Linked DNA regions of Homo sapiens: regions 1, 2, 4 and 5 are each linked to region 3. The links are contacts of gene promoters, found by promoter capture Hi-C in blood cells and fetal thymus (Javierre and others, 2016). All regions are on one chromosome and are shown on one strand. Each heading gives the region's core, a stretch centred on a gene start or on the middle of the fragment in contact. The rest is flanking DNA. Distances are from core to core; before and after follow the strand shown.

Region 1 (5,099 bases), core at 1,191-3,690, 480 kb before region 3:
CCTTTTGACATAATAATGTCCTTGACAATAACTTCAAGACCCTCTGTGACTGCTTCTTATGATGACCTTCAGTGCAGACTGATGGAATCTTTCCAATATACAACTGGGTAAAAGCAGTTGGGGATAGAAGAGTGTGGAGCAATGCAGTCTACATACCCAATTCTCTCTGATGCTTTGGACTGACCCAGGGATATATTTTATAAACCTGTAAGAGGGAATAGAAGAGTGGGTAAGCTTCAAACATTCCCCCTTGAATATCATCTCTCAACTGAAATTTTGACAATTATCAAGCAGCAACAGCAAAGTTAAAATAAATACCCCCTAGTAAAGGACTGGGGGATAGCTAGTCTCTGTTGTCAATTAATATGAATGCAGTTTGGTTGGGGGAAGAGAAAATGACCTTTTGTGAATGCTGAAATGTCTACTCTAGGACTAGTCGTTGAAAAGAGGATCATCCTACCTCCATTGTGCGCATCTACTAATTAGAGCATGAAGAATCCTTAGAAATATTTAATAATACTGAACCTGCTTCCAAGGTATATAACTAATGTTGAATCCAAACTCAAACTCAAAGTTCTACTACATATAAAATGACTGAAAGAGTTTTAGCCAAAAATATTATAATCACTATAGCCAAGGTATGAACAGTCTTATGAGGCATACTCAAGCATATTCAACCAAATAGTAACAAAAAAAGTAAATCACTGGATTTAAAGTTCTTTTTTTTTTCTTTTTTTTTTGAGACAAGAGTCTCACTCTTTCTCCCAGGCTGGGGTGAAGTAGTGAATCTCGGCTCACTGCAACCTCCGCCCCAGGGTTCAAGTGATTCTCCTGTCTCAGCCTCCCGCTGGAATTACAGGTGCCCCCCCCCCCACCCCCCACCACCACGCCTGACTGTTTGTATTTTTAGTAGAGACGGGGTTTCACCATGTTGGCCAGGCTGGTCTCGAACTCTTGACCTCAGGTGATCCATCTGCCTCAGCCTCCCAAAGTCCTAGGATTACAGGCATGAGCCACCACACCCAGCCAACAAATTTAAAGTTCTTTAAAGGATTATGCTGCAATCTGTATATGGTTGGTCTGCCCCCATCAAATGACATGTTGAAATTTGATCTCCAATGTGATGGTGTTGGGAGGTGGGGCCTAGCAGGAAGTATTTGGCTAATCATGGGGGTGGATACTTCATGAATGGCTTGGTACTTATCACCCACTAGTGAGCCAGTTCTCACTCTAGCAAGGCTGGATTGGTCTCAAGGAAGAATGGATCAGTTCCTAGAAGAGTAGGTTGATAAAAAACCAGAATGCCCTTTGGGTTTGGTCTCTCTTCACACCTGCCTGCTTCCCCTTTGACTCTCTCCACCATGTTTTGATGAAGCACAAAAGCCCTCACCAGAAGCTCAGCAGATGCCGGGGCCACGGTTTTTGTACAACCTACAGAACTGTTAGCTAAATAAACCTCTTTTCTTTATAAACTACCCCACCTCAGGTATTCCTTTATAGCAACACAAAACAGGATAAGACAGATTATACTGTCATTAATATTCAATAACATTTCACATATCTGCATTTCTCCCACCAAGTTCAAGCATAGACTAGACAGTTTTTCTGATTAGTTAGCACCAGAATGTTAAGAAGTTCAGAGTTCTAAAGCTCACTAAACTTAACTCAGGCCTCTGGGTGCTTTTTAAAAAAAAAAAAATTAAACACCTGATAAGTTTAGTTATATACTTTCCCAGGTCACAACCAATTATAATCTGCAAGTCAGAATGGGAAGTACAAAGAAAAGAACTGCTAGAAATAAAAAGAGTTGTAAGAAATAACAAATAACTTGGTAGGAAGAAACAGAAGGATGCAAAAGCTCAAAGAACTCCAAACACATAATCTTCTGGGGCCACTTAGGCAAAAGCTCTACATGCTGCAAGAGTCTCCAAGGGCAACCACTGCACAGTGGGCATATTCATAGAGGCAGATTCAGAGTAAAGTCATCAATAAGGATTACATTATTCTATGTATAGTCTTTGTCAAGAAGGTAGGGAAACGTGTAATCATTTTTTAAAGCAATCCATCCAAAATATTGTAAATATTATGTGTTGTGGATTAAACTTGTGCGCTTAAATAAATTTCAGTTATACAAATCCTGCGCTCCAAAATAAATGCTGAGTAAAGCACTACAGTTGATGAAGGATTTTAAGCTTAACTCAAATATTAGTTATGTATAAAAATATAAGCTTCTCATTCCTTGACTATAATGGAAAAACTGAGGTGCTAATGTAATTTGAAATAATATTCAAGTTCTGAAATAATATCATGACCTATAGAAAACTAAGACTATTCATATGTTATTAAAAACACTTGAATTGTGAAATCATCACTTGTCTCCACCGTGCTTATCACACTACTCCTTATATTCCTCTTATTAGTCCCTCCTAGCTACAAAACAGGAAAATTATGACTTTGCATGGGAAGTTTCTCTTAAAAGTATTGACTTAAAAGTTTGACAAGTGTTATTCTGAAATGTTTATATGTGCATATTTTAATAATTTGCTCATAAGACATTGTTAAGCCATAGAAAGAGAATTTAGATTTTAATACTCTGCCACCAAAACCAAAATCAAAGGACTATATAAGGTTTTCTGTAAACAATGAAGCTTATAAAGGACAGAAAAAATGACTAATATCTGATTATCTATGGATAAAAATGCAAGTTAAAAAAATCTGAAGGGCGTTAACAACTTAATTTTCTGAAGTTCTAAACGATAGAGAATATACAGGGAAAATACTAGTTGGTTCTCAGAGCCAAAGTCAAGTGTATGAATATTTTGAAGTTGAGTGTGTAAGATTTAGAGTCCTCAAATGACCTACTATCTCTTCACCAAAATCTGTGAAAAATATGAAAAAACAGTACTTATCTGATGAAATAAGGACTATGCAAATGTTTTTAGTCTACAACATGTAAATGTTCACTAAAAAAAACTAATGAATTACATACACATATACAATCACACATGAGCCAAAATTCAATTCAGCTCTTTATCTGATTATCTTACCTATCTAAACAACCCACTTTCAAAGCTCAAAACTATATATTGCACTTGAATAAAGCTTTAAACATAAAGAATTGTGTACTCACATAAGAAGACTTTAAACCTAAACTGAGAATACACCTAAATTGTTTAAGGGGTAAGGAAAAACATTACTGTGAAAGTATAAGTGGATACACTAGAATGATATATGCTGGTGACTTTTTTTTTTTTTGGTTTTGTAAATGGTTCAATTTTTTCCAGAACATCAGCAGAGAATTACAAAATCAAAGGCACAGTCCAAAATATTTTTGTTTATAGAGAAAAATGCACATACGTAATTTAGCTATTATAAACATTTATCTTATCATTATTACCCTGCTCATATTTGGAAAAATTCAAAACTAAATATAAACATTTTTTGCTTGGAGGCTATTATTAATTTTAAGCCTATAATTGAAGGTTAACAATGATCTAGTCCAATATTATTTTACAGACAACAAAAATGAACAAATGGAAAGGTTGCATGGCTTGTAAAAGTGCACACTAGTTAATGATAAAGTCAACCTAGAACCCAGTTATATTTCCACCAGATCAACTTCTTTCCAACTTAAATATCAAATCATCTCTGATTTGAGATATAAAAATAAAGAGGCCGGGCGCAAGGTGGCTCACGCCTGTAATCCCAGCACTTTGGGAGGCCGAGGCGGGCGGATCACGAGGTCAGCAGATCGAGACCATCCTGGCTAATACGGTGAAACCCCGTCTCTACTAAACAAAACACAAAAAATTAGCCGGGCGTGGTGGCGGGCGCCTGTAGTCCCAGCTACTCAGGAGGCTGAGGCAGGAGAATGGCGTGAACCCGGGAGGCGGAGCTTGCAGTGAGCCGAGATCGCGCCACTGCTCTCCAGCCTGGGAGACAGAGCGAGACTCCGTCTCAAAAATAAATAAATAAAAAATTAAAAAAAGAATTCATAAGAGACATGAGTGAAATACCCAGGGTTTGGTGACTCTGGAAAGTAAACTAGCAATAAATGCATAAATACTGCTTTATTCATTTTTCTTAATTTGTCATGGGGATACTTAAAATGTACAAATGGCCTATAGTGACTTTCTTCCAAAAAGTAAAAGTCATTCAGACAAAGCCTATCATATAGACCCCATTACTACACATGGATAATTTACATGCACCATCAACTATTTGGATCTGAAAAACAGCCTTAATATTATCCATATAAATAACAATACAAATGAAATCCAGAGCAGAAACCACAACTTATTTTAGCTATTACACTAAATCTATGTGTAAACTGTAACTAAAGTTAGCACATATTCATTTCACAGTAGAAAATAATAATTATGTAAATTACAATCATGAAAATACAACTAATACAGAGAGCTGTCCCCAGAAATCAGTGTGACGTTCCTAAAATTTCTTAAAGATAATTTAAAATTTAGTTTAAATAAGGTTGAAATACAAATCCTTTTCTTTTCAACTGTCTCTGATAAGGGCACACATGATCATTACATGACCTAAAGCCAGCCAAGACAAAAATGGAGAAGCAAAAGGAACAGTACCCATCACTGAAATTATTCATTCAATAAATATTTTTTGAGTGTTAGATGCTATACTGAGAATTTGAAAGAAAAAAAAAAAAAGACTAAGCAAAAAGCAGATAGAATCACTGCCCTTGTGAAGTTTAACAAAAGCTGATAGAGCTTTTATTAAATATGTTACCCCCCAAGAAGCACTGTATATGTTGAAACTACCCTTATTTTTAAAGCAATTTTTGATGTCTGTATATTATGGTTAAGAAAATCAGCCTTGCTTATGGTTCCATTTACCTACTTTAAAGATATTTACCTATATTTTAAAACACCTAACAGCCTATTTGTCTCAAAAAGTTACATCCTAGACAGCACAAACGGCAAATTAAACGGATACCATATTACTTTACCATTTACAACTCAAAGTGCTGTAATAATTACATTATACAAATACAGTCAATGAAGAAGGTCTTCTTGCTAGATAAACATTTGTAATAATTCAAGTATTTTTTAAAAAGTCACTGTGAGTTA
Region 2 (4,595 bases), core at 177-2,676, 260 kb after region 3:
ATCCAAACATTCTTTAATATTTCTCTCCTGGAAGGTAATGAATGATGAGAAGGTTAAGACAGTAAATTTGCAACAAATTCTCTAATTTTATTTCATTCAAACTCTCTTCCTTGGTAAGGTCACTTCAACGTATTATAAGATTGTTGAGAATAGATAGTTGCTGTGTGATTCTTTAGTATTTGTTTTTGCCTTTAAAATGATACTTTTTGGATCACTTTGATGTGCTTGACATGTTGAAATTTATAACATACCCCTATAGTTACAAATTTAATTTGAGAAATACTGGAAGTAGTTAAATATATCCTTCTGTTATGCTTAGATACCAGTTTTGGAAATATTTGTCCAAGGAGCTTGAGCTTCAGTTACAAAACTATGAATGTCATTCCTGAGTTCATAGACCTTACTTAATGTATTCCATTGCAACTATAAAAAATTGGTATGATACAGTAAGTGGGAATAGCCACCTCGATCACTGAATAAAATATTTTAAAAAGTCAACTCCTCCGTGAGCTTCATATACAAATGACAAATATTGCTGCATTTTTTATTGTCAGTGAATATATGTGGATTTCTTTGGATACCAAAGCTTCGTGATAGAAGAAAAATAGTTATTGCAAAATATTGCAATGGGTATATTTACATTTTTTAACCATCCCGTTGTGTTTCAGTCCTATTTCCGACACCATCTTTACAATTTTTTACTTTATGTTGATTGAGCGTGCACTTTTCTAATTCTTTAAATATATCTAATACAGGCGCGTATGTTAAATTTATACAAGTCCTCCACATACAGCTGATATAAACAAAAAGAGCCGCACAACTTGTGATAGAAGTGCTCTTATCAAATTGGATCTCCAAAATCTATACTGGGTTCTAAGTGTGTATTAAGCATTACTTCTATATGTCATGCAGCACTAAAGATTTGAAGAGATACTGTGTTATCACTAAGGGGACTGTCTTAAAATTTATCTTTAAATTTATCTTACCCTGCTCACAAGATATTTCTACACACTAGAAGAATAAATTTTTCAGCTGCAGTGTCAGCCATTTTTTGTTTTCCAATGATGTGTGGTTGAATGAATAAGACTTTCTAATTAATAGTTATAGAATTACTAAGAAAAGTTGCCAATAGCTTGATTTTTTTCCATGTCGGTATTTGAGACACTTATTGAAAAGTTAAGCATTCTTGGTTTGCAAGTATTTTTTTTTAATTTTGAAGTTTTAAGATTTTGTTATAAGACTGTCATCAGACAGTAGAGCTTGCTGTTCTCATTGGGCATTGCACATTTGATAAAACCATATCAAAGATGGTACAGTCTTTTTTTCTTGTTAGAATGCACTTGAAATAAAGTCAACATTTGCTGACGAATTTGTTTCTCTCTGTATTGTCATTATTGACACTTAGAGATGCAGCAGATGAATTTGAACATGCCTCAGCATTTCCCACATTACCATTTTTATAAAAAATAATGTGACCCACTTAAAAAGAAATTGATTTGCACTAAGTTTAGGAAACACGTTTCAGTTATAATGTACTAACAAAAAAATCCAGTCACTAATATCCTTTCTAAAAAACATGCTGAAATTTCCTATCCAAAACTTGATTCAAACTTTTCCCCAAAGTGAGTAAGAGTCTCATGTCCCTTTCACTTCATGACTAACTGCAAAATTGTTTGTGTATTTAAATCATAAAAATTAACATTATGGTGTTATTCCTCTGTTAGAGTGTTGATAAAATGACCATCATATACCAGAAAGTTTAATGAGACACGTTAAAAGATTAGTGCCTATATTATTAATGTTGGTGGATAGAATCACCATGCAAATTGCTACTGGTCACCGTACATGTTGAAATATATAACGAACCATATGCTGTACTTGGATTTTCTGTTTTGATCTGCCTATTTGATCTGTCTATTTTAAAAAATTCCTGGTTGAGACCCAGTATATTAATATTTTATTATTCACAATTAGTTGTAACTTGCAGTTTGAAAAACATTGCCCTAAAGGAATTGCCATCTATTTCGGGAGGATGAAAGTAACTGGTGTGGGTAGTGATGACCCAGAATAATGCCCTCCTTATTTTGGCATGGGGAAGAAGGGTGTAGACTGTGTGCCCACTTACACCAGTTACCCAGCCGTGGTGCACCTGTATGTCCCAGGTCTAGGGTCTGTTCTTCCATTCGGAGGACAGGCTTATTGGGAAAATGGGCTTACATGATGGGTGAATGCAACCCATTTCTTAGATTAAGCAACCTAAGCTTTCATTCAAAAACATGAGTAAGATGTTTAAAGGCATCAAAATTAAAAAAAAAAATAGCCCAGAAGGTATGTCCAGATGGAGCCATTTTTATTCAACCTCCTTGGCATGTACTGTACTGCATCCTTCTCAGGTGGCAATCCATCAATCCATGTCTTTATTTGGTTTTTACATTTTTCATTCATTAATTCCTTATTCATTCACATATATTTTTTTCCTGTGTTTCTGGAGCTTTTATTAAATGAATGCTGAATAATCCTCTATGCCTACTGTAAGTAAAGGGTTAGCAAAACCCTTTCTTCTTTTATGTAAGAAATTGACCAGTGACAAATCTAGCTTTCACAGTTGAGTCTGAATTTCATTTCTCATGTCTTCTATGGTTTTATGTTTTTTTTTTTAAAGGAAACCTTGTATGTGTGGAATGAACCTAAATGGTGCATTAAAGGAATTTCTTTGCCTGAGAAAAAGTTGGCAACCTGTGAAACGGTTGACTTTTGGCTGAAGGTGGGAGCCGGTGTGGGAGCTTTTACTGCCGTTTTGCTGGTGGCTCTGACCTGCTACTTCTGGAAAAAGAATCAAAAGTAAGTACCCTCTGAGATGATCACAAGAGAGCTAGAGGGCCTATTTTGTTGTGAAAATTCTAGACTTGATCATTATATCCAATAAATAGATTCTCTCAGAGACACAAGAATTTTCTCCTTGCGAAGAAATCATAGGAAAGGCCTTGAGAAAGCAAGCAGAGGAAACGATTGTTATTCTGACAGTAGAAAGATCATAGAACATTAGAGATCATTGAGTTAGAGTCATTTATTAGAAAACAAGGAAAACAAGAGGCTCCATGTTATTCAGGTAGATGATAGCAGAGCTGAGATTTGGAAGGCAGGTATTCTCTCAGTGTCTGCCTTTTTTAAAAATGATATAATGCTGTCTTCTTCCTTCACCTTTTCTTTTAAAATTTCTTGTGGGAAGACATTTGCAAAAAAAACCAGACCTAGTGTATAGGCAAATATCACATTTATTTACTCCAGGTCTTCAAGTATCTGGAATTGAATATTGAGCCTAATTCCTGAATGTATTTTGATCTCTTATAGGACTTGAATCTTTTAGAATGATTTACACCTCAGTGGGACTGTGGAACTCCTATATTGTAATATCTAGGGACAATTGCAATATCTGGGGTGATAGTATAAAGGAATAAATAATATAGAGAGATGATAAAGACCAAATTACTTGCCTGTTTGATATTCTCATCTTTACGAACTAAATACTGGGAAAACCTTAGTGAATTGGCTTCCAAATATTCATGTTAAGAAAATGCATTCAGGCCTAAAAGTCCCTGCCCCCCAATTTTTTCATTATTGGACAATTCAATGTAAAGTGGTAGAATTAACTCTATTGAACTGATTTCTGACATCCTGGGAAATATTTCTTTGTAAATGGTAGATACATGATAACACACATATTGCTATGGCTATAGGCTAGGGAAATTTGTTGGTGGAGCAATTATACTCCAAGTCAATTTAATGAGCTGGTATATTACCACCTAAAATAAGTATTTATTTATATTAACATAAATGGATACTTATTTGTTTATTTATTTTATCACTATTTAGACTGGAATACAAATATTCCAAGTTAGTAATGACGACTAACTCAAAAGAGTGTGAACTCCCGGCTGCAGACAGTTGTGCTATCATGGAAGGAGAAGATAATGAAGAGGAAGTTGTATATTCCAATAAACAGTCACTACTAGGAAAACTCAAATCTTTGGCAACCAAGGTGAGAGTAGAATTTTAACCTGGTGTTACTGGGTGTTTATAAAGTAGAGGGCATATTAACCTAATAATAGCATTCACGCAAGCTGTTATTTTGCATGTTTATATCTCAGTGGGTATTTATCCAACAGAAATACTCTTAGAAGCACATGATATAGATACAATAATATTCACTGCAGCATTGTTTTCGTTGGTTGTCAAACATCATCAGTAAGGAGTTAGATATTTTCATCTGTCAAAGTGATAGAATACTATGCAACTCTGCAGCTGTTAAAGATTGAGATAGCTATGTGTACTGATAAATCAATAGGTCCAAGATAGAGTGAAAACAAATGGACTATTGTATTTATATTAAATATACATTTATGTTTGTATTTGCATAGCAAACTGTTAACAGTGGCTGCCTTTTGGGAATAGTGAACTAATGAGAGTGTTTAGTCTTTGAAAGCAATACATTTTTGTGATATTGGAATTTTCACAAAGATACTATTTTATAATATAAAAGTGGGGGCTAATAAAAGATATTACATTCATTCATACTGTTCCTTTTTTATGACAAG
Region 3 (4,677 bases), core at 209-2,708:
AAACATGAAAACCCTTAACTGAAAAAAACAGATTTTGCAATACTTTCAACATAGTGGAAGAATATTTTCGTATTTGGAGCTTAAAAGCTACAAATGGTTTTCTCCCACGAATTAAAAATACAGGTATAATTTAAAATTTTCCAAATGGCGTCACTTTAAGCTTAAGACATGTCATATTAAAAAATAATTCCACAGAATATGCATTTTGTAGGACGTCCCAACATGCAGCCTCGACTGTCAGAAAGGAGGCACACATAATCAAATCCATGTACATTAAAAAGAGGTACACAAAGATGAATGAGTTGCGAAAAAAGCAACTACACAAATTCAATGAGAGAAAGGGAGGAGTCCTGACTCATACTGTATACTATTATCCTTTTCCTTATCTACACCGAGTATTTTATATAAAGACATATGCTCTATCATTCAATTGCACAAAAGGGCACTTGGCCACTTCTACTCTCAAATCTGCTCTGGAGATTGTGGTAAAACATTCTACATACCTCCCTGAAGAAATTCTCAAAGCGAAGTACATTTTAGAGAACAAAGTGGACTTAACAATTTTAAGAACTTTCTCGGAACTCGGCACAATAGGGTAATTACAACTTTACAGCCGCATTTTCCGTGCTCCACCAGGACTGTCCCCGCGCCCCAGCCCACATCCCTTCTTTAAAGAGAGTCAGACTGAGAGAGACGGTTCGGCCAGCTATCCCGATTCTCTATGTCTGGGCCGTGAATCGCCGAGCAAGGCTGAACCCCCGCAAAATTACAGAAGAATCTAAAGCGCAAACGAGGGAAAAGAACAAAAAAGCAAAGGGGGGGAAGTTGGGTCGAGACCCACCCCCACTCTCTCGACCCCACCCAAGCCTACCTCTCCTACGCTGGACCATAAAACAAAACCGAAAACGTAACAAAAATAAAAACTAAAAATAGAACACCACGAGAAAACAAGTAGGGCTTCCTTACTGTCTCCACTCCTTCTGGCCCAGTTCTCTACTCAACCTCCCGGCCCACCCCACCCCCCAGGGGTCCCGGCGCCATTTAGCTCCTCCGAAGCCGCCGCCATTTTCCGCCCCCGCCGGATCGCCGCTGTGCCTCGGCAGCCGCTCGCTTCCCTACTCTGCAGCCTGAGCCACGGGCACCGCCCGGCCCTAAGAGGGAGGCCCTGGCCGGAACGTGCGGGGACGGCAGCTGCAACGTCAGGAAGGCCAGGCTCCGACCCCGCCCGCAGTGCCCCGGCGCCGACAGCTTGCGCCAGCCGGCGGGAGCTAGCGGGCAGCAAGGGGGCCGGACAGGCTCCACTGGGCGGAGCGGCCCTGGCGGCGGTTGGAACCTGAAGGTTCCATCGCACTTACTTCCTGTTTTGGGTCCGGGCACTTTGGAAGAACCAGGATGGAAGCTCCAAAAAATACCAGGATGGAGGAAGCAGCCACGGGCGAGAGTGGCTGCAGCTGGAGTGAGCGAGCGCGACGAGCCACCGGAAACGGAGCTGCGGCCGCGCCCCGCCCCCAGCTCCCCGCACGCTGCCCCTCCCGCTCGTCTGTCCCGCTGGCGGCCCAGCGTGCTGGCTGTACGCGTCACTTCCGGCTGTGTCGGCGCGCGAAAAAAGGTCCTGGGTTGGAATGTTTGTACTGGTCTGTGGCGGTGGTTGTCGGCTGTCCTGCCAGGAAAACTCGGCACTGACTATCCCACTGCTGATGCTGTAAAAGAGGTCCTTCTGCTATGACGCAACTGTGGTTCCTCTGGTTCTGGGGACACTTAGGCCTCGCGTGCCGATTTTCATAGTTCCCTGTGGCTCCGAGCCGAGGGAGCCGCGGTGTGGAACGGAGGGAACCAGTGATCTCAGTGCTGAAGAAAACAGGGAGTGTGTGTCTTCATACTTGATTTGCCTTACCGCAGGGGCATAATATGAGATATCTGGGCGTGTTAAGTCGTTCTTGATGAAATGTGTCCTCTGTGAATGTAGTCTCACTGTTAGACTAGGAAGATGCTGTTTTGCTGTGCCCAGTTCCTCTTAAAAGTACAGATGCTCCTTGGGTTGCAGCCGTATAAACCCATCCTAAATAGAAAACGCGTTTTAATACCCTTATAAACGAAAAGGATAAATAAGCCTTTGGGTTCTGTAATGTGAGCCAGCATTCTTTGAGTGCGTATGTGACAGGTAAATGTTTTACGTATATTAAACTCATTTAATGTTCATAAGTTCTAAGTGCATCGCTACAATTATTACAAATGAATCCCATTTTACACAGGAACCAAAGAGAAGTGAAGGAATGTGTCCAAGGGCTCCCAAGTTGGCGGTGGAATTAGAATTGAAGCCTCAGCTCCAAAGCCTGTGTTCTGAACTACCCGGTTGCAGTTCACAAAATACACTTTGGCAGTACTTTCATAACGAAAACAAATGATTACAACCAGTTTACAAATGCTTTGCTTTACTGGAGGATCGACATGTTTGACTAATTTTCAAAAATAAATCTCAGAAGCAGCATTTTCTTGTGTTGATAACTTTATTACTAATTTGTGGCACTCTGCATTCTGTTGGAGTTAAGCCGTGTATCATTCCATTTTTTAATAAGTACATAATAATGTTTATGTAAGCAAAACTATGAGGCAGAATAGTATCGTGGTATGGACTCAGGCAGTCAGACCTGAGTGTGAATCTTGGCTCCATTTCTTAGTAGTGGATATGGCACTTCACCTCTTTTAGCTTTGTTTACTTTAGGAGTAATAAGATGTACCTTCCAGAATATTGTAGACAGCGTAGTTTGCATGGAATCTGACGTGTATTAAGCATTAAAAATGGTAACTAATAAACCTTAAAGCCAGGAAAGCAATACAACTACTCAAAGAGCAGTTCTAATAAAATAATAATTACATATGCAAAATTGTTGACATTAACATTGATAAGGTGGTTCCTAATGAGCCATATTTTTCATAAGACATAACCATATAGGATTATTTTTGCTAAGGCACAAAATAGTGATATATAAATTATAGTCGGGCTATCCATTCTCCTCTGCTAAATTTTAGGTCAGCCTGCACGCTGCTAACTCCCCGCAAAAAGTCAAGTGCATCCTCATAACTAAATTCTCCCTTTCTGGTTGAGTTTCTTTTATAACTACCTTTTCCCAAGTCAATTGGTATTTATTTGGGGATGACAAATGTATTTTAATATTAGCTTAATGCATAATTTAAAAAAATATAATAACGTCTCTATCCCTTTAGCTTGAATAATCAATGTAAAGACTATCCATAACACAACTTGATTCCTAGAGCAATTTTCTGCAGTTATACTTCTATGTTATCCGTACCTCATTATTTAGTCAATGTGTACCTAGGGAATGGATGAGGTTTTAAATATTATCCAAGGATTTACCTATTTAGGAATTAAATGTTTTGTAGAAAAATCATTAGAAGTATTTCTATCCTAAACAATAATTATTAAAGTATTTATAGCTTAGCTATGGTATTTACTGCATTTGCTAGTTAAAATTGACTTTGTTGGACTCCAGGTGTCTATAACACTTTTGTGAACCTCATCAGTGATTGATGATGAAATTGCCTTTTATGACAGGTTGATATATTAATATAAAGTATTTCAAATACTGAGAAGCAGGTTCTGTTGTTTCATGATCATCTTTTGCTAATTCAGAAAAAAAAAAGATGTTTATAAGCTTTTGTTCAAAGTAAAAGAAAATTACAATTACTGAGTAATTTTCTTTCTACACAGGCTCTGAGTCCTGTTAATATAGCTGATGGGTATACACTGTAGGGCCTTCCAGCTGATGGAGATTGCTGTGCTAATGGAGGAATGAATAAACTGTCCCAGTTATGCCCACACACCAGGCTTTACCAGGTGGTCTCCTGTCTCAGATTCTTCCTGTAGGCTTCCCTCTGGGCCTTATGACACTCCATCTTACAATCCTTTTCCCGCCTTGCATTTTGCCTATGTGTCTCATCTCTGCAATCCTTTTAATACCTCAGCCTGGTGACAACCTCTCTATATCCACTTCACTTTTTTCTTCTTTTGTGGTAAATCTTTGTTGAGACCTATTGATAGAATATTAGCCAGAAAAGTGTTTCCTTATCAAGGGAATGGAGAGCTAAGGCGTCCAATACTCCTAGCCAATAAGGATAAAAATTTTTGTTCTGTCTTTGTAATTTTGGTGTGCAAAACAAAACAGTTCAGATACTTCACTAAAACAGGATAATATCCAGACCCAGACTCAAAGACCTGTTCCTTTATAATCTAGCATGGAAGAGAGAGGGACAATGTATTAGTTAACTAAGCAATAATTGCCATGTTTTGTAAGTTCTGAGAAAGATACAACTTGGGTGCTCTGAAAGTGAACTTTTACATAGAGAGTTCAGAGTAGGCCTTTCTGAGAAGATACTTAAGCAGAAAGGTAAGAATAAAGAAGCATAGTAGGGGGTGCAAGGTGGGAAAGCATTTGTCAAGCTAGTGCATGAAAGCATATTTGCAGAAAGCAACTGGCTTGTAAAATGTTTATAAAATGGTGAAAGCAGAGCACTGCCAGGTGATAGGCTGTCCCTTGCAAATGTTAGCTGAATTTCTCAAAAAACTTTATTGTGGTAAGAACACAACATGACATCTGCCCTCAATAAAATTTTAAGTATATAAAACATTATCATTGACTATGGGTACAATGTTGTACA
Region 4 (4,951 bases), core at 454-2,953, 270 kb before region 3:
CCCCAACACTCACACTGTGGCTGGAGACTCACACGTCCCAGAAGTAAGCCCACTTCTGGATATCTGGACTCCTCTCCAGTTTGGATGTGGTAATTAGAAAGTAGGAAATTGTCCCAAAGAGGCTGGGGAAGGAAGAGTACCCTGATTGTTCCCCAATCTGAGTGCAGGTGGAGCTGTGACCAGGAACCAGCATACTCATTTGGATCTTGTTTCTAAGGTCATCCTTCCTTTACACTGCATGAGCCAAAATGAATTCGTGTGTAGGACTTTGTTACTTCTGTATTTAACTGGTTTATTGGAAGTAGTAGGAACACACTGAATTTTGTAGTTAAACACAGTATCTTTGTCACTGAGATGTTGTCCTTCAAAGTTTTGAAAAATAAACCTATTTAGAATGGTTTAGAAGCCAGAACTGGACACCTTTAAGATTTTTGGCCTTTGATTGTAATGCATACTGATGATTTTGCAGTACATGAATTTGACGTGGGGGCTTTGAATTCGTATTTGGTCCTGGACTTTTGTTATTTAAATAGTTAACATACAAATAATGTAAAATCAATGTGAATATAGGCACCTGTGTCAGAATACTAGCAACTGTTACCCACACAACGGGCAGGTTTGGTCACTTGGTGGGTTTCAACCCAATGACCACATCAAGGAGGATTTAGCAAAGGAATTTTATAACTTGTCACAAGTGAGAAGCTCACAGAGCTTAGTTCCCAAAGCAGTATCTCCCCAAGCTGGAGGCTGGGTCAGGTTTTATAAGCGTATGGTAATGAAGTGTGATCTGATTGGATCTTGCAATGAAGTGATGCCGGGAAGCACCATCTGACTGGATCCTGCCATGGGGTGGTGTCAGAGCTCAATCTGATTGAATCCTGCATCCTGCCATGTGGTGTCTGCTTCTTAATTCAGTCCCTGATTCTTGTTTCGGAGCACTTAGGTTCCTGCTATGGTTGCATGCTTGATTCATCTGGGGCTGCTCAGGTTATTAACATGACTTGAGGATCCGTGGCAACTGTAAAACAACTCATAACTTTGCTACATAAAAGTTGAACATGATTGGTCTGGTGCAATTACATACATAAAGATCAAAAGAGACCATAGCCTTTTTTCTCAACCAGGGTTTCACGTTTGGGAAAGCTGGCGAGATCCTCACCAGAAGACTGCGGTCAATGGCTTTTAAAGCAATGCTAAGACAGGTAGGAGTGTGCGCTGGAGAATGCCTTCTGATCTTTCACATTTCTTCCATATTAAGCTTCTTACTGTTCTTATTGTTATGTCGATATGCATGTTTTCCCCCCAGGGTATTCACGCAAGGATGGGGCAGAGTCCTGCAAATTGTCCTGGTCCTTCAAGAGCTAAAGACTTCTCATGTTTTTTTTGTTTTTTTTTTGTTTTTGTTTTTTTTCATAGAAATAGGCTTTATTTGGGTAGCTTTGGCTTATTCTGTAAATATCTCTCTCCATGTAGACACTATCATTTCGAAGACCTGTATCTCTTTTCTGGATCCTGTGCAGGCCCTGGTGAGTCCATTGAGACTCCAGGATGTCTTTAAACCAAGAAAAACCTAGTTGATAGCATTTAATCTCATGTACCACAATCTACCATACTAACTGTAGGTATCCTCAAATGTTAATAATTGAGTTTTGTTTATTTCTTATTTGAGGTCTATTTTCACATTAATTCACTTGTTTGTTTATTCAAACATTACTTATCATGTACCAGACACTGTGCTGGTGGCTGGTACTGTATAATCCATTATTTGCTCTCCTCGTAAGTTCACATTCTAGTGCCTGACATAGGAAAATATGCAAACATGAATTATCTATTTTTATAGAAAATGCCTAAGAGAGGGCCAGAATATTATCCATTCAATTGACAGGAACTGATTACATTTCTGTTCACAAATGGGCACATAGTAGGTAGTATATTCTGATTAAATCTGTCTACAAATCCTATTTCAGTATCTCCTAAACTCTTGCTATGCAGGAAAAATTATTTTATGTGAAGGTAAAAGATGCCATGGATGAGTAGCTTACAATTAAAATTAAGTCTCAGACATGCTTCTTTTTTTATCCCTGTGGCTAACTGGAGATCAGACACACTTTCAATCAGTGTTTAACAAAAAATCAAACAAAAGCTTGGTGAGAAACCAGTGCTTATTTTCTCCTGCCTAGAATCTATCAGAACAACATGTCCAAGACAGCTCCACCACCCTTTATGAGAGACAACACCATATCAGGGCAGAAGTGTCCATAGTGAAAGACCTGATGATTGGGTGAATGGAATGCCTACCAGCCTCCCAGCCTTGGGAGGAGCTGGCAAGGAGCATGGCAGCCATCTGGGTGAGCCCTGCCCCCCTAGACCAGAGATGCCCTCCCTGCTACCACAGAGCAGTCAGGAAGCTGGGTTCTGCTAGATTCTGGGGGTGTGTGCTCAGAGCAAGGCCAGGGACTCTACACTGCATATGAGGTCTCCCCTAAATTTCCTCAGCATTGGAGCTTTGGGAGGCTTTGTCTGGTTTTCTTTGCTTGTTTTAATTTTGAACTAACATAAACGTGTATTTTATGCCATAGGACATGAGCTGGTTTGATGACCATAAAAACAGTACTGGTGCACTTTCTACAAGACTTGCCACAGATGCTGCCCAAGTCCAAGGAGTAGGTAGACTGCACTCTACTTGTAGTTTTTTACATAACATGGTTTTAGATAAGCATGTAGCATACCCACACTTGTTAAGATGCTTCCAGCTAGAAATAGCAGAAAGCTCAAATCAAAACTGCTGTAAACAATAAGCAGAAGATTAAACTTCAAGGTTGATTGACCCACTGCCCCCTCCAGATTTAATCCAGAATCCAGGTTCCCTCATTGGCTTTGGCTTTATCCCAAGGCTGATTCCCTGCAGTCACAGGATGGCTGCTAATAGTAATTAGAACTACAGGCTTCCTTATTTCCCATCCAGTGAAAGAGAGCACACACCTCTACCTCAACCACCAAACAAAAACCCTTTGCTGAAATCTAATTTGGGCTAATTTGGGTCACATGCCCCACCCTGAACCACTGTCTCCAGGGGATGGTGGTGTTCTGAGTGGCCTACGTCCCCCACCCCTTTAGCTGAGGTGGGTTACTTTGCAGCTCACTGCTTCCACACAACAGGAGAAGGAGGAATGGATGCAGAGAGCTGACTGCAATGTTGCTACAGCCACCTTTGTTTTCTGAGTGGTACAACACTAATTCATCCTTATATGTGCTTTGTGGTGGATGTCTCTTAGGACACGTACCCTTTGTAACAACAGATGGTCTCTTTCCCTTTTACACTTTTGAATTAAATGGTCTTTAAAATTACCCAGGTACATTGGAGTTAGTTTCCTCTTTGAACATTGCATCTATGAAAAAATACATGCACCCCCAGTGCCCATCCACAAAGCAGAGAAGTTGATTACTTGGTTCTAGAATGTTGGTTCAGGTGGGCAGGAGAGGAATGAGAGTGTAAAGGCACAATGAAGAAATGTCTGCAGAGCCTCATGAGTTAAGCACAGGTGTTGTGGGTTTATTGTAATGAAAGTAAGCCAATGTAGCTCAGGCATAGAACCCACTCATCATTCTGACCAAGAGGCTAAGGCTGGAGCGCATGCATTTGGAGCTTAAAACTACAGTTGCTTTGTGCTTTTTCTCTCCCAGGCCACAGGAACCAGGTTGGCTTTAATTGCACAGAATATAGCTAACCTTGGAACTGGTATTATCATATCATTTATCTACGGTTGGCAGTTAACCCTATTGCTATTAGCAGTTGTTCCAATTATTGCTGTGTCAGGAATTGTTGAAATGAAATTGTTGGCTGGAAATGCCAAAAGAGATAAAAAAGAACTGGAAGCTGCTGGAAAGGTAGGTCAAATAAGATTTCAATTGGTGTTAAGTGTTGTTTTTAGACATGTGTTTTATTTGAATTATTTATCATGATATGCAGGCTTTAATAATTAAATGTTTGTGCCCACTACAACTAATAATTGTCAATTGTGTATGAAATATTTTACTGTATTAATGTCTAGAACTTAAATATAAGGTGATTAACATAAAACGTTGAGCCTATAGAAAGCACTTAACATAGTTATGATAAAGAACTTCTGAATATTCAAAGTGCATTTCATTTTACTTCATGTCCAAATGCTACTGTTTGGACAAATGTCATCCCTGTTTCACAAACCTTCATGCAGAAGACTGTAAGTGAATTGTTCAGGGTCGGACATGTGCTGGCATTTAAGAGATCCTCTTCTTTTTGGCTGTGATTTCTATAATTAAGATGGCAGCCACCAGATGGCAGTAATGCCTCAATTTTGTGGTTCTCACTATAATGGCAATTGGGCTTAACATTTACTTGAGCCTTACTACGTGCCAGTTATTGTGCTACATATTTATATGCACCAATTTATTACATCTTCACAATAATCCTATAAGGCAGGCACTATTGTTATCCCAATTTCAGAAATACAGAACCTGAGATTCAAACAGAAGTTAGAGATTTGGCTGGGATTTAAGTTCAGGTCTAGTTTCAAAGCTCTTACCTCTACTATATGGTCTCTTTATATGTGTTTAAGTGTCTAAATCTACACATAAACATTTTATTTACAAGTACATGCACTGAAATGTTCACATGTAGATTATAACCATGAACATTCTTAGTCTTATTTATGTAATTATTATCCTTTATTGAAACATGAGGAAGTGAAGCAGATAATAAATATAAATTGTGATATAGGTTTTATAGCATTGCACTTTACAAAGCCCTTTTACAAGCATTACTGCAACTGACCTTAACTAGTTATGAGAAGTGGAACAGACAGTATCTCTATAGGGAAGAAGGCGTCAGAGACTGGGTGAGTGACTAGCTTCAGAGGCACCATATTAAGAGGGAAGATTAACATTCGGACTAACCATGTTTCCACTAAAC
Region 5 (4,828 bases), core at 762-3,261, 290 kb before region 3:
GAATAGGTCATTGCACAAGAAAATGTTACATTTATATCACTTAAAACAATCAGCTCTCTGAAATACAAGAAGAGATGTTATGTTAGTTTGTTTTTATTTATCAAAATGAAGATAGCTTCATTTTATGATTGTTAAAATAATATATACTAATTTTACAAAGGATTAGGATACAGAATTTTTAAAATTAAAATTACTTACAATCTAATAATTTATATTCTCTTGATGATAATTTTTGGCATATATCTTCCAGGTCATTTTCTATATATATACACATTGTTTTCTTTCAAAACTGGGATCATACTATGTATATCTTTTTGTAACCACATTTATGAACTACCAATATTTTGTGACCATCTTTTCATGTCAGAGACTCAGAACAATATGTAACTATTTAAATAGAAATCTTTTAACATCTGTACTTCCCTATCTTGCTAAAATGAGGATACTGAGCATAATTTGGCCCTTTGATGATGACTTGGGGTCATTATGAAAGTGAATATTTTCAGAATGCTTTATGCAGTGGTATCTTCAGACTTCATTGAGAGGTTGTGGGTGTTCGACTTGGTGAGCCCTCATTAATGCTGAGTCTAATTTTTCTCACTTCCATCTTCTCTCTGGCAGTCGGTTTGGAAGCTTGCTACCCTTTCTTCACTTCCTCATTTACTATTGATGTTTTATGAAGAAGGGAGGTTGAATCCTGACAACCGTTCACCTTTGGTGATGAGTTTGTCCTCTATGGCCTTAATTTCCTCATTTGTAGTATGTGGATAATGACACCTATCCGGTAGGGCTGAGATTGCTATCCCCAGAGGGAGCCCAAGCAAAGCCCTCTGCATAGAGGGCAGGGACTCTATTGCATTAACCTTATGGCAACTATTTTGGTCAACATTATTTTTCTTTCTTACTGGTCCTTATCTGTATTGCAGATGGGGGATAGATATTTAACTGATATTTGAGTTATGGGTAACATGAAGTGTTGCTGTGTTTTGAGAAAAGCCAAATTATATGTAGAAGTTTTACCATGCCCTGAGAGAAAAAAATAATTTATCTTCACTTATGTTTTTCTCAGTTAAGTTATGCTAATAATCTGGATTCCTGAAGCTGTATTCTGAGCTTCTTTATATCAATTCATTTTCCTAGTGAAAAAATACTGTGAAGGGAAATGTGTTAAGTGTTGTATGCTACAGTACAGAATAACTGTGTAAAGGAATTGCTAACCAGTGCACACTGGAGTGATTTTATGTTTTATGATGTGCAAACTGTTACTTTTTATGTTAAAAATCTTTAAAAATATATGTGACATGGTGCTTTTTAGGAGCATTACATAGGGCCAAAATCTGCCATGTTTTATATTGAACCGTCTATGTAATTCCATGCATAGTTAGAGAAAATCATATAGGATGGAATAATAATACTGACTGAAAATGTTTCTTTCTGGTGGCATTTGTGAGTGAGTCAATGAAATAGGTTTGAAAAATCTTTTTAACTCTGTATGTATTCAGGAGAACAATAGGTAGTTTGAGAAAATAGACCCACTCAGGCAATAAAATGCTATATTAGCCTTGCAAATGTTGCTCTTCCACAAAAAAAAAAGGAAAGGATAAACCTAAACTTAATCCTTTATGTACTATGTTACATATACATCACATTTTAGATAATAATGAATGCCAGAATGTGACTTAAACTTTTCCTCATGTTATTTTGCTCAGGTTTTTTTTTCAATCCTAATTGGAGCTTTCAGTGTTGGCCAGGCTGCCCCATGTATTGATGCTTTTGCCAATGCAAGAGGAGCAGCATATGTGATCTTTGATATTATTGATAATGTAAGTCATTTATTATTTTAGTGCCAAAAGAAGTCTTTGAGCTTGTATAATTAAATCTGGCTTTAGTTTGCATATTTTTGAATCAACTACATTGAATAAGTTGTACTGACTAAAGTGACATTTAATTATATGAAATGAATGACCTGTTAGTAATAAATGAAAGAAAATACCTCTTATTAATATTTTTTAAATGTATCTTTAGATAATATAATAATACTGATCTCATTTTGGAAAAGGACATCTGCACTAGTGCAGAGCAAAGACGTTTCTCTTCCTAGTTTTTATCTTTTTCACTTTCATGTTGTAGCCAGACTGAGAATCTTATGATTTCTATATGGGATGGGGGGTAGATAAATTATCGGTGGGACCAAAATTGACAGTATATTTTGCTGTGGGTTCCCCCTCTCCAAAAAATTATCACTGCATGTTTGGTATGATTTTAAATAAACTACATTAAATAAACTGACTACAGTGAAAAAGAAAAAGTTTTGACGTAAAAAAGTAAGTCACTGCATTCAAATATTGCAAGGTAGCTAAGTGAAATTTGATCATTTAATCTAAGCAATTTCCTTTTTCATTGATCCAAGTCGTGAGAAAAGTGCTCAGTTTCTGATTGTATTAAAAGTTTACATTATTTCTAAATAACTGCTATAATCAACCATTCAATCTTCTCAATTCAATCTATTACATTTATTATTTAGGAATGAGCTAATTTTCACTAAATGCTGAAATACTTGGCTATAATATATATCAATTATAGCATATTTTTGTTATTGCACTTGTATAAATATGCATATCTGACCATTTAGAAAATTTATGAGGATATGCCAAAAACTTAAAGGGAAATATTATATGAAATGAGATGAATATCTCTTACGTACTTTTCAGGAAAACACTATTTTCTGAAAAGGAGTATTTCTTTAAACAGCACACATACATATACACACAATCTTCATCTTGGGTTTTTCTTATGTAAAGGGGATTGTGACATTCCAGGTCCTATTTTTGGAATTTGCTGAATCATATTCCTTAAAAATGCAACTTGTTTGTGCTATGATGGAATAGTCATTACATTTTGTTTTATTTAGAATCCTAAAATTGACAGTTTTTCAGAGAGAGGACACAAACCAGACAGCATCAAAGGGAATTTGGAGTTCAATGATGTTCACTTTTCTTACCCTTCTCGAGCTAACGTCAAGGTACTGTAAGTAATATTTATAGGAATTCCTAACTGAGGTTGATTGTTGAATCATTTTAAAGAATAAAGTCTCTATTATTTTGATACTTATGTGCCTTTTCCTTTGGGGGTTATATTCCCTTATTTGATACTTTTTTTTCAAATTTCAAACTGAATCGAATTATTCCCATTTTAGGGCTTTGTTGTGAAGTGTGTTCTTTTTTCTCATTTTCCTTACAGATCTTGAAGGGCCTCAACCTGAAGGTGCAGAGTGGGCAGACGGTGGCCCTGGTTGGAAGTAGTGGCTGTGGGAAGAGCACAACGGTCCAGCTGATACAGAGGCTCTATGACCCTGATGAGGGCACAGTAAGTGGGAAGAACCAAGCTTTCCAGAGTGGGAAGCTGGATACAAATTGGCCCTTTGAAATTGGTTTTTCAGTAACAAATTTGCGTGTGAATCCAGTTTTGGTAAAAAGCCTACAAAATGGCAATGCCGATGGATAATGCCTTCACACCCTTGGGCTGGTTTCACAAATGCATTAAATAAAAGTCATAAAAGCTGTGGAAGCTGGACAAAGCTCTCCTCTGTTCTGACTAAGCTTTCATAACACATTAAATTACTGCAAAGCAGTCTACAAACCACTGAGAGGATTACTTTCAATGAGTTAGAGTTTGGTCAAACATACTCCATATAGCAATTGTTGGGAACAATTGATGACAATTAGGGTCACCAGATATTTTAGGACAGCAATTAAATTCATCCAAGACAGTTGAGTTTTCTTAAACTTAGGAATATCTAAGGGGGAAAGTGGGATGGTCTCTTAAGAAACTAGTCTCTTGAGAAAATTCTAGAAACACAGAGACAGTAATAGCCTAGGGTATGTTTTTTTGCCATTTAAAAGTTTTGCTATAAATTTGAATTTACAGAAAATTGTAACTAGAGAACTCACAGATCCTTCACCCAGATTTAGATTGTTTATATTTTGACCCACTTGCTTTATCATCTTCTCTTTCTCCGTGTGTGTGTGTATGTGTGTGTTTATGTGTGTGTGTGTGTATTATGTATACCCTTATACTTCAGAATACATTCCTAAAAAGGACATTCTCTTAGATTACCACAAAACAATGATTAAAAATCAGTAAATTTAACATTAATGCAATATACAAGTCCACGAGCTATATTCAGAATTTCCTCAGTTGTCCCAATTTTAGAGCATTGAGTTTATCTGATATTAAAATGGATTATAATTCAATAATTGTGAAAACAGAAGATTATAAGGTAAAAAGTAAAAATAATGGCATGCCAAAACCAAAAATCATAAAAAGGCATTGGGACAGAACAGAGATCTCCAGAATTAATACATAATTTTCTACAATACATGGAACTATTTATTTAATTTAATAAAATTAATATTATTGGAAAAATCTGATATTACTATGGGGGAACATAGGCCCATTCTCATTTACTAAAGTAAACTCTGGGTTGGTTCAAGTGTAAATATTTTCTTTATTTTTTAAAAAGAACCTGGTAAAATACCAACCATTGAGAATTAAATTATTATTGAAACAACTGACATTTTTAAAGAAAGCATATGTTAACAGAAAAAAAAGATCTTCAGAAATTCTATAACTCAGAGATATTCACTGTTAACATCATGATTTAACAATTTTCTTACCACTGAAATAATAGAAAAAAATGCCCAGTGGCATAATTGATTAATTCAGTTGTTCCTTAAGCCTCTTTCCAATAAAAACCAATAAAACTATGATGAAAGAAAGCAATAAAGGCCTGACATGGTGGCTAATGCTTGTGATCTCAGCACTTTGG

What was found. The method cuts DNA at HindIII sites, captures the fragments that hold promoters and counts their contacts. A CHiCAGO score of 5 or more calls a contact.
Region 1: a fragment that was not itself captured here is called in contact with the fragment with the promoter of DMTF1 in region 3 in 2 of 17 cell types (total B cells and fetal thymus); the score reaches 5.5 in total B cells.
Region 2: a contact is called between a fragment that was not itself captured here and the fragment with the promoter of DMTF1 in region 3, in 2 of 17 cell types (non-activated CD4 T cells and total CD4 T cells). The highest score is 6.7, in non-activated CD4 T cells.
Region 4: a contact is called between a fragment that was not itself captured here and the fragment with the promoter of DMTF1 in region 3, in 2 of 17 cell types (total B cells and non-activated CD4 T cells). The highest score is 5.9, in total B cells.
Region 5: a contact is called between a fragment that was not itself captured here and the fragment with the promoter of DMTF1 in region 3, in 1 of 17 cell types (total B cells). The highest score is 5.3, in total B cells.

Annotation. Positions count from the first base shown.
Region 1 is chr7:87,630,269-87,635,367 of GRCh38, reverse strand. The region is part of intron 1 of RUNDC3B (RUN domain containing 3B); the gene reads right to left. It also overlaps a transcript of ABCB1 not described here. Among named protein-coding and RNA genes, the nearest start is that of RUNDC3B, 4.4 kb to the right of the region's middle. The HindIII fragment of the contact is 420 bases long and covers 2,231-2,650 here.
Region 2 is chr7:86,891,168-86,895,762 of GRCh38, reverse strand. ELAPOR2 (endosome-lysosome associated apoptosis and autophagy regulator family member 2) reads left to right here. Exons shown (of 22, transcript NM_001142749.3): 20 at 2,663-2,841; 21 at 3,874-4,039. Among named protein-coding and RNA genes, the nearest start is that of GRM3-AS1, 90 kb to the right of the region's middle. The HindIII fragment of the contact is 1,675 bases long and covers 589-2,263 here.
Region 3 is chr7:87,149,234-87,153,910 of GRCh38, reverse strand. DMTF1 (cyclin D binding myb like transcription factor 1) reads right to left here and starts at 1,458. Exons shown (of 18, transcript NM_001142327.2): 1 at 1,356-1,458. DMTF1-AS1 (DMTF1 antisense RNA 1) reads left to right here and starts at 1,418. Exons shown (of 2, transcript NR_136253.1): 1 at 1,418-1,609; 2 at 2,253-2,488. RefSeq lists enhancers at 1,263-1,824, 1,670-1,909, 1,825-2,388. The HindIII fragment of the contact is 3,514 bases long and covers 163-3,676 here.
Region 4 is chr7:87,416,249-87,421,199 of GRCh38, reverse strand. It overlaps ABCB4 (ATP binding cassette subfamily B member 4), which reads left to right. Exons shown (of 28, transcript NM_000443.4): 19 at 1,125-1,202; 20 at 2,580-2,663; 21 at 3,685-3,888. Among named protein-coding and RNA genes, the nearest start is that of ABCB4, 57 kb to the left of the region's middle. The HindIII fragment of the contact is 885 bases long and covers 1,261-2,145 here.
Region 5 is chr7:87,441,857-87,446,684 of GRCh38, reverse strand. It overlaps ABCB4 (ATP binding cassette subfamily B member 4), which reads left to right. Exons shown (of 28, transcript NM_000443.4): 10 at 1,710-1,823; 11 at 2,912-3,022; 12 at 3,241-3,366. Among named protein-coding and RNA genes, the nearest start is that of ABCB4, 31 kb to the left of the region's middle. The HindIII fragment of the contact is 2,752 bases long and covers 636-3,387 here.